Regions from separate parts of the Homo sapiens genome. Here region 2 is linked to region 1. Evidence: promoter capture Hi-C in 16 types of primary human blood cells and fetal thymus (Javierre and others, 2016). All regions are on one chromosome and are shown on one strand. Each heading gives the region's core, a stretch centred on a gene start or on the middle of the fragment in contact. The rest is flanking DNA. Distances are from core to core; before and after follow the strand shown. Region 1 holds the start of MYO1E (myosin IE). Region 2 overlaps MYO1E (myosin IE).

Region 1 (3,416 bases), core at 539-3,038:
GTCTTATAACACACATTCGATTATATTGTTGCCAAACTATGTAAATGATTACTACAAGAATTTGGACAATATGATTTTCTTTCAACTTTTAAAAGTGAGATATAATGAACGTACCATAAGACTCACCCATTTAAAAAGCATAACACAGTGGTTTTTAGTATATTCATAAACTTGTACAATCATCACCACTAATTCCAGAATATTTTCATCACTTCAATAGGAAAATGCATACCTGTTAGCAATTACTTCCATCTCCCCTCTCCCCCAGCCCCTAGCAAACCACTAACCTACTTTTTATCTCTATAGATTTCCCTATCCTCAACTTTCATTTAAATGGAATTATATAATATGTGGTCTTTTGCTCCTGGCTTAACACGATATTTTCGAGATTCATCCATGTTGTAACATTTTGTTTACCCTTTTAGACAAGATAAAGTTTAATACCCTTTCTAACTCTATGCTCAGATAGTCAAGTGAAGAGCTACAACCAAATTTCTTTTTCCTTTCTTCCTTTCTTCTCTCTCTCTCTCTTTCTTTCTTTCCTTCTTTTTTTTTTTGACAGAATCTTGCTCTGTCGCCCAGGCTGGAGTAGAGTGGAACGATCCCGGCTCCCTGCGACCTCCGCCTCCCCTGTTTAAACGATTCTCGTGCCTCAGCCTCCCGAGTAGCTGAGATTACAGGCATGTATAACCATGCCGGGCTAATTTTTGTATTTTTAGTAGAGAAGGGGTTTCACCGTGTTGGTGGCCAGGCTGGTCTCAAACTCCTGACCTCACGTGATCCACCAACCTCAGCCTCCCAAAGTGCTGGGATTGTAGGCGTGAGCCACAGCGCCCTGCCTCAACCAAATTTCAGAAAGTATCATAATATCATTATGCTTCATAGTTTCTCTATGCCCTGAAGTTTACCAATTTTATCTTCTACAGATTCCAGGAAGGCAGCCTGTTAAGACTCACCAAATTTACTTCCTCAGCCTCCAGAACAATAAAATCAAACTCCCTACCTTGATTTTAAGATTCTGCTTCCCCCCACCCCGCCCCACCCCAATCTTCTCCTTGGATATTCGACAGTCTGGAATAATGCATTTTTACAGTTCTGATTGTTTTCAGCAGATGTGTTGGCTGAGGTTGGATGGGGTTTCTTCCCACCTATCTCTCCTCTCTCCTTCCCTCTGCCCACTGCACGTGCAACAACTTTTCTGCCATCAAAACGTGCAAAAAAGAAACAAGAAAGAAAGGAAAGAGAAAGAAAAGAAAAACAGAAAAAAGAAAAGAAAAAGCAGCCGGAAGTCTTCCTTTGTTTTCCAAGGAAATTCAGGTAAAAGGAGGGGTGGGGAAATGATATTTTTGACTTTGCTCACAATCCAGACGTAGGAAAGAAAAAGGATTTCCTTTGGGCTGCTGCCACGACTCTGATGTTTTATGCTGATAAAATATTTCCTTCTTAAAAAAAAGTTCTGGGAAAATCATGCCCCTTCAACTTGGAAGCGAAACCCACCCTAACTTTCGTCTTAAAACGCAGCGAAGTGAAAGGTTTGCTCCTCTTTCACGAGGGTTTTGTTCCTTACAGTTCGGGTCTTGCTACCAGGAGCGAGCTGGGTCCGCAGCGTTCTTCGGTGGCTGGCGCGGGAGGAGGACTACAGGATCCAGAGATCTTTGGAAACTCCAGCAGCTCCAAGCTTGTTGGCTACTACGGTTTCCCTGAGGAGTGACGCTACGAAAACAAACCCTGATTGGTCAGGCCTGAGCTGAGTTCTCCATTTATGGACAGATTGCCCGGCCCGAGCCGAGACTCAGCCAGAGGAGTACGGATTAAGTGGCCGAAGAAAGAGGAGTGAGGCAGGGGAGCGAGGCGGACGCTCCGAGCGCATCGGACTCACCTGGGCCGGCGGCGACCGGCGAGTACGAGTGGACTCTTGCCCTCCGCAGCATGCGCCCCGCCTGCTAAGTCGCCGCCGTCTCGCCCTCACCTAGCACCGCCAATCCCGCCTGGATGGAGTCCCCTCTGGGTTCCCATTGGCTCCTGTGAGTGCTTGGGTGTCGGGAGCCTGTTTTTGGCGAGGGGAACCAACTTTTGAAGTTCGCCCAGAAGACTGCGTTCCAGCCCCAGTTCCCCGGCAGCGGGACCCGGCGAAGACGCGACCGCGGCGCGAGTCACCATGGTGAGTTGGCCGCGCCGCGTCCTAGGACGCCGGACCCGGGGACGGGGCAGGAAACCCCGGCGTGGTGCACCCACCTTGGGCGCGCTGCCGGGGCCAGGGGTGGAGAAGGTGGACGCGGGAGCCGGCACGTCGCGAGCTCTGATTTCCTGCCGCTTTCCGTAAACCCGGGCCGGGGGAGAGCGAGCGAGGGGCCAAGGAAAACTTTATTCCAAGTCGGTTTCTGCGTCGCGAAACTTTCTGTGGCCGGGTTGCTATGGCTGCCAGCTGTCGGAAGCCAGGGTGTGGGCGCATCGGCTGCGAGGGGCACGGCGCGGGAGGGGGTCCCCTCCTCCTGCTGGGACGTGGGGGGCGCAGCCGGCAGGGGAGGTGCTCGGAGACTCGCGCCGCAGCCGCTGGCGGCGTCCCCTGCCCTCCCCGCGGCCGTGCCCGCCCCGCCCCGGGCACCCTCGCGCCGACTCCCTCTCCTCCCCGCCGCCGCTCCGCTGCCCGGCAGCGCCCGCAGCTGTCCCGCCTGGCAGCGGCACGCGGGCGGGGGCGGTCCCTGGCCCGCCTTGGCGAGGGGCGGCGCGGGCCGCACAAAGGCAGGCGGGGGCGCCAGGTAGGGCGAGCACCTGGCGGCCGGCGGGCTGTCAAGAGCCAGGGAGACTCGGGCGCGGGCGGCAACCACGCCGCCCCGGACCTGTGCCGGGCGCCGGCCCCGAGGGTCTCCGCGCCCCGGACGCCAAGTAAACACCTCCTGAAGAGGACCCCACCCCTTCCCAAGCGCGAGGGGATCGGGGCTTTTCGGGGATCCAGGGGACGCTTCGCACGGGAAGACGCCCTCGCGAGTTTCGAGTTTGTTGCTGTTTTCCCTTTGGCACTTTGGGAATGTGTGGAAGGGGCCGCCTCTTTGACTTGTGACTTTTCTGCTATTCCAACTCCCCAGTCCAGCTACACTCCCCTCCCTCCCTGTATAACCTTAGCCACCTCCCTTGGGCTTTGGCGTGGTGTACTTTTCTTTGCGGGGCACGAAAGCAAGGACTCTATTTTGAAGAGATCGGCAGTTCATCAAAAAAAAAAAAATCTATTACAAGGCTTCATAGTTTCCACACTTGCTTCTTTTCAAGTAGTCCTGCTTAGGTGGATTATCTCGTCCTCTTCTGGTTTGCTGTTGTTTTCTAATGGCTGTGGAAGAGAAGCCAAGTCAAAATGATAACCAGCACAACACTAATTAAAAAATCGATATCCCGGTGAGCAGCCTGAGGGAAGTGCAGCA
Region 2 (3,323 bases), core at 288-2,787, 160 kb after region 1:
AGATTCCTAGCTAGTTTGTTTCTTTGACGTTTATATATTCAAGCTAGAAGGACCCTAGTCAAGGGACAACAGTGGGGGCCATTCAATCCAAAAGATCTGTATTTGATTCCAGGCACTAACATTTATACGGCTTAAGGTATGGTTAGTGTGGTTAGAGTAGGGTCAGGCAGGACAGGGTAGGAGAACTATTCTAGGTACTTTAGTGGCTATTTAAAGGATAACATTGCTTGGGAAGGTCAGGGTCATACTAAACAGAAGTCATGCAGTTAGGTTGTCCAGACCCCTCATTTTACTGAGAAGGGAACTTCAGGCCTGAGCAATGGTGGTTTTGCCCAAGGCTGGTCAGCAAGGGGGTGGTGCAGCCTGGGACTAGAATCCATATCTCTTTTCTCTTTGTTCAGAGCACCTTCCAGCGCTGGGCTTCCTACCTACCTTTCTACCTGTCACCTGTCAGTTTTTTTTGTGAATAGTACCAGTACATGAATACTCATATAAGTGATCCTAATTTGAGGTGGGATTTACTGGGCACTGACTGTGTGTTGTGTATGATTACTCATTCGCTCACAAAAGATGATATTTCATTTTGTTTGCCTGGAAAACACCTCTGGTACTTCAGAATTCGTCCAGGTATTCATCACCTCAAAGAATTGTTCGCTTACATTCCTCCCCCACTGCATCCCCCACCAACCGCTCTATCCAAACCTCCCTTGCTGTCATTACATCTGTTCCCATGAATTGCTTGGCCTCTTCTCACGGTGATTAAGAACACAGATTTAGGCATCATACTGCTTAAATTTAGTCCCAGACCCTGCTTCTTACATAGAACAACCTTAAGCAAGCCTTGGTGTATCCATGTGGAAAATTGGGAAAATAATGGTATCACTGCCATTTTGAGAACTGAAATGGGAATTAAGTGAAACAACACATTGAGAGCACTTAGCAAACCCTGGCAAAGGTGAATGTTTAATAGACGTAAGCTGCTTCTATTATCAATTCAAAAATAATGACTATTGTTACTATCTGCAGATAGCTCACCCTCTCTATAAGCGCCTAGGAACAAGGGTTGTCTTGTCCTTAGCATCCCTGGCATATTGTGTTGGGTCATCATTAAATGACTGGTGAATGGAAGACACTGGAAATGACAATTACAGATCCTTTAGTGTGGGTTCTTTGTGTGAAATAGGTTTTACTTCGATCATCCAAGATGACATTTTTTTCTAATTGTTAAGACTTCCTGAAAAAGCTTACTTGGACAGAAATTAATGGTTATCATCATTAAACAAACATTTTTTGTTTCTACTGTACTCGCTTTTCTGAATCCTGGTGGTTTTCCAAAGTACTTGACTTTGGACTGAGAGATTGTTAAAGCAGCAAGTCTCCTGCCTTCACTTGTCCTCTGTTTCCTGCAAGCAGTAGTGTTTGCCGTGTAGAATCCAGCTTCCCTTTCCCCAGTGCATGCCCGTTTTTAGTATGAATGGAAAGGAGTTCACTGCCATGCTGTTTACTTTCTCTAGTCCATCAATAAAGCCATGGAGAAAGACCATGAAGAATACAACATTGGCGTCCTAGACATCTATGGCTTTGAAATATTCCAGGTAAGGCCAGTTTTAATAACTAGGGGTTGAGGAGGGTGACGTATTTCATCTGGCCTGCAAGAAATAATTCTAGGCAATGCAAAAACAAAAAAACAGAAAACAAACCACAACAACAAAAAAAACAACTCAGGCTCATTTTTGCCTTTGTGAGTTCTTCATGTGCCTTTACCAAATTAGTTTCTCCTAAATATAAACTTATTTCTTTTGATGCATCCAACATTTCTATTAAAGCTTTTCACATGAAGACATTTCAATAAATCACTCCAGAAATGACTTTTAAATGATTTTGTGAAAGAATTACATGTGAATAACTTTTTTTTTCCAGAAAAATGGCTTTGAACAGTTTTGTATCAATTTTGTTAATGAAAAACTGCAGCAGATTTTTATTGAACTGACATTAAAGGCAGAACAGGTAAGCAGTCCCTCTTCCTTCATCCTATTCTATTTATAATTTATTTTGTTTAAGAGGGTATAGATTTCTGTCTTTTGTTAATAGATTTCGGTTCCAGTCTTATATTAGGAAATGCATCTAATAAAGTCAGGCAGAAAAACCATATGCCATTGTGGCATTTTAATCTATGAAATATAAATACCGTCTGCAGCATTTGCCTTCTTCTTTAAGCAAATGATGCTGTGATGTTGGAGGTAAGACTGGCTGCTTTTACTCTACTGACTCATTGAGCACGTGGGAAATGGGAGCCTAGTTCCAGCCCCGACTGTCTGTGGCAAATATTGTGTTCCAAATAAAAGACTTGGTTTCCTCAGATCTACGCCATTTTCAATCTTCCCTAACAATACGTGCATTTTTAACAAAGCTGGTATTTGAATACTTACCTGAGGTAACATGCCTTGGTATAGTTTCTTCTAAAGTTCACTGCAGGCTGGGTGCTGTGGCTCGTGCCTGTAATCCTAGCACTTTGGGAGGCCGAGTCGGGAGAATTGCTTGAGCCCGGGAGTTCAAGACCAGCCTGCGGGACAAAATGAGACCCCATCCATACAAAAAAAATAAAATAATTAGCTGGACGTGGTGGCATAAGCCTATAGTCCCAGCTACTCTGGAGGCTGAGGTGAAAGGATTGCTTGAGCCCAGGAGGTCGAGGCTTATATCATCACACCACTGCACTCCATCCTAGGCAACAGAGCAAGACTCTATCTCAAAAATAAATAATAGCCAGGCGCAGTGGCTCATGCCTGTAATCCCTGCACTTTGGGAGGCCGAGACGGGCAGATCACTTGAGGTCAGGAATTCGAGACCAGCCTGGCCAACATGATGAAACCCCGTCTCTACTAAAAATACAAAAATTAGCTGGGCGTGATGGTGTGTGCCTGTAGACCCAGCTACTCAGGGGGCTGAGGCAGGAGAATCGCTTGAACCCAGGAGGCAGAGGTTGCAGTGAGCTGAGATCGTGCCACTGCACTCCAGCCTTGGCGACAGAGCGAGACTTCGTCTCAAAATAATAATAATAATAATAATAATAATAATAATAATAATAATAATAATAAATAAATAGTTCAGTGCAGTTTCCATTGTTTCCTGATAGCATATTGTTTAGGATTCCTGGGGCCACCATAACAAAGCACCACAAACTGAGTGACTTAAAACAGTAGCAGTTTCTTCCCTCCCAGTTGTGGAGCCCAGAGTCTGAAGTCAAGAAGTCCTCAGGGCCACACTCCTCCTCCTCCTCAGGATAGAGGGGAGAATCCTTCCTCTTCTAGTTTCTGGTGGCT

What was found. Contacts are between HindIII fragments. The CHiCAGO score rates a contact against its expected background, and 5 or more counts as called.
Region 2: a fragment that was not itself captured here is called in contact with the fragment with the promoter of MYO1E in region 1 in 7 of 17 cell types (M2 macrophages, M0 macrophages, endothelial precursors and 4 more); the score reaches 10.5 in M2 macrophages.

Annotation. Positions count from the first base shown.
Region 1 is chr15:59,371,243-59,374,658 of GRCh38, reverse strand. MYO1E (myosin IE) reads left to right here and starts at 1,788. Exons shown (of 28, transcript NM_004998.4): 1 at 1,788-2,161. The coding sequence starts at 2,159. RefSeq lists enhancers at 1,500-2,004, 2,005-2,508 and a silencer at 2,524-2,843. The HindIII fragment of the contact is 5,897 bases long and covers 1,681-3,416 here.
Region 2 is chr15:59,212,912-59,216,234 of GRCh38, reverse strand. It overlaps MYO1E (myosin IE), which reads left to right. Exons shown (of 28, transcript NM_004998.4): 11 at 1,515-1,595; 12 at 1,921-2,007. Among named protein-coding and RNA genes, the nearest start is that of LDHAL6B, 7.7 kb to the right of the region's middle. The HindIII fragment of the contact is 583 bases long and covers 1,246-1,828 here.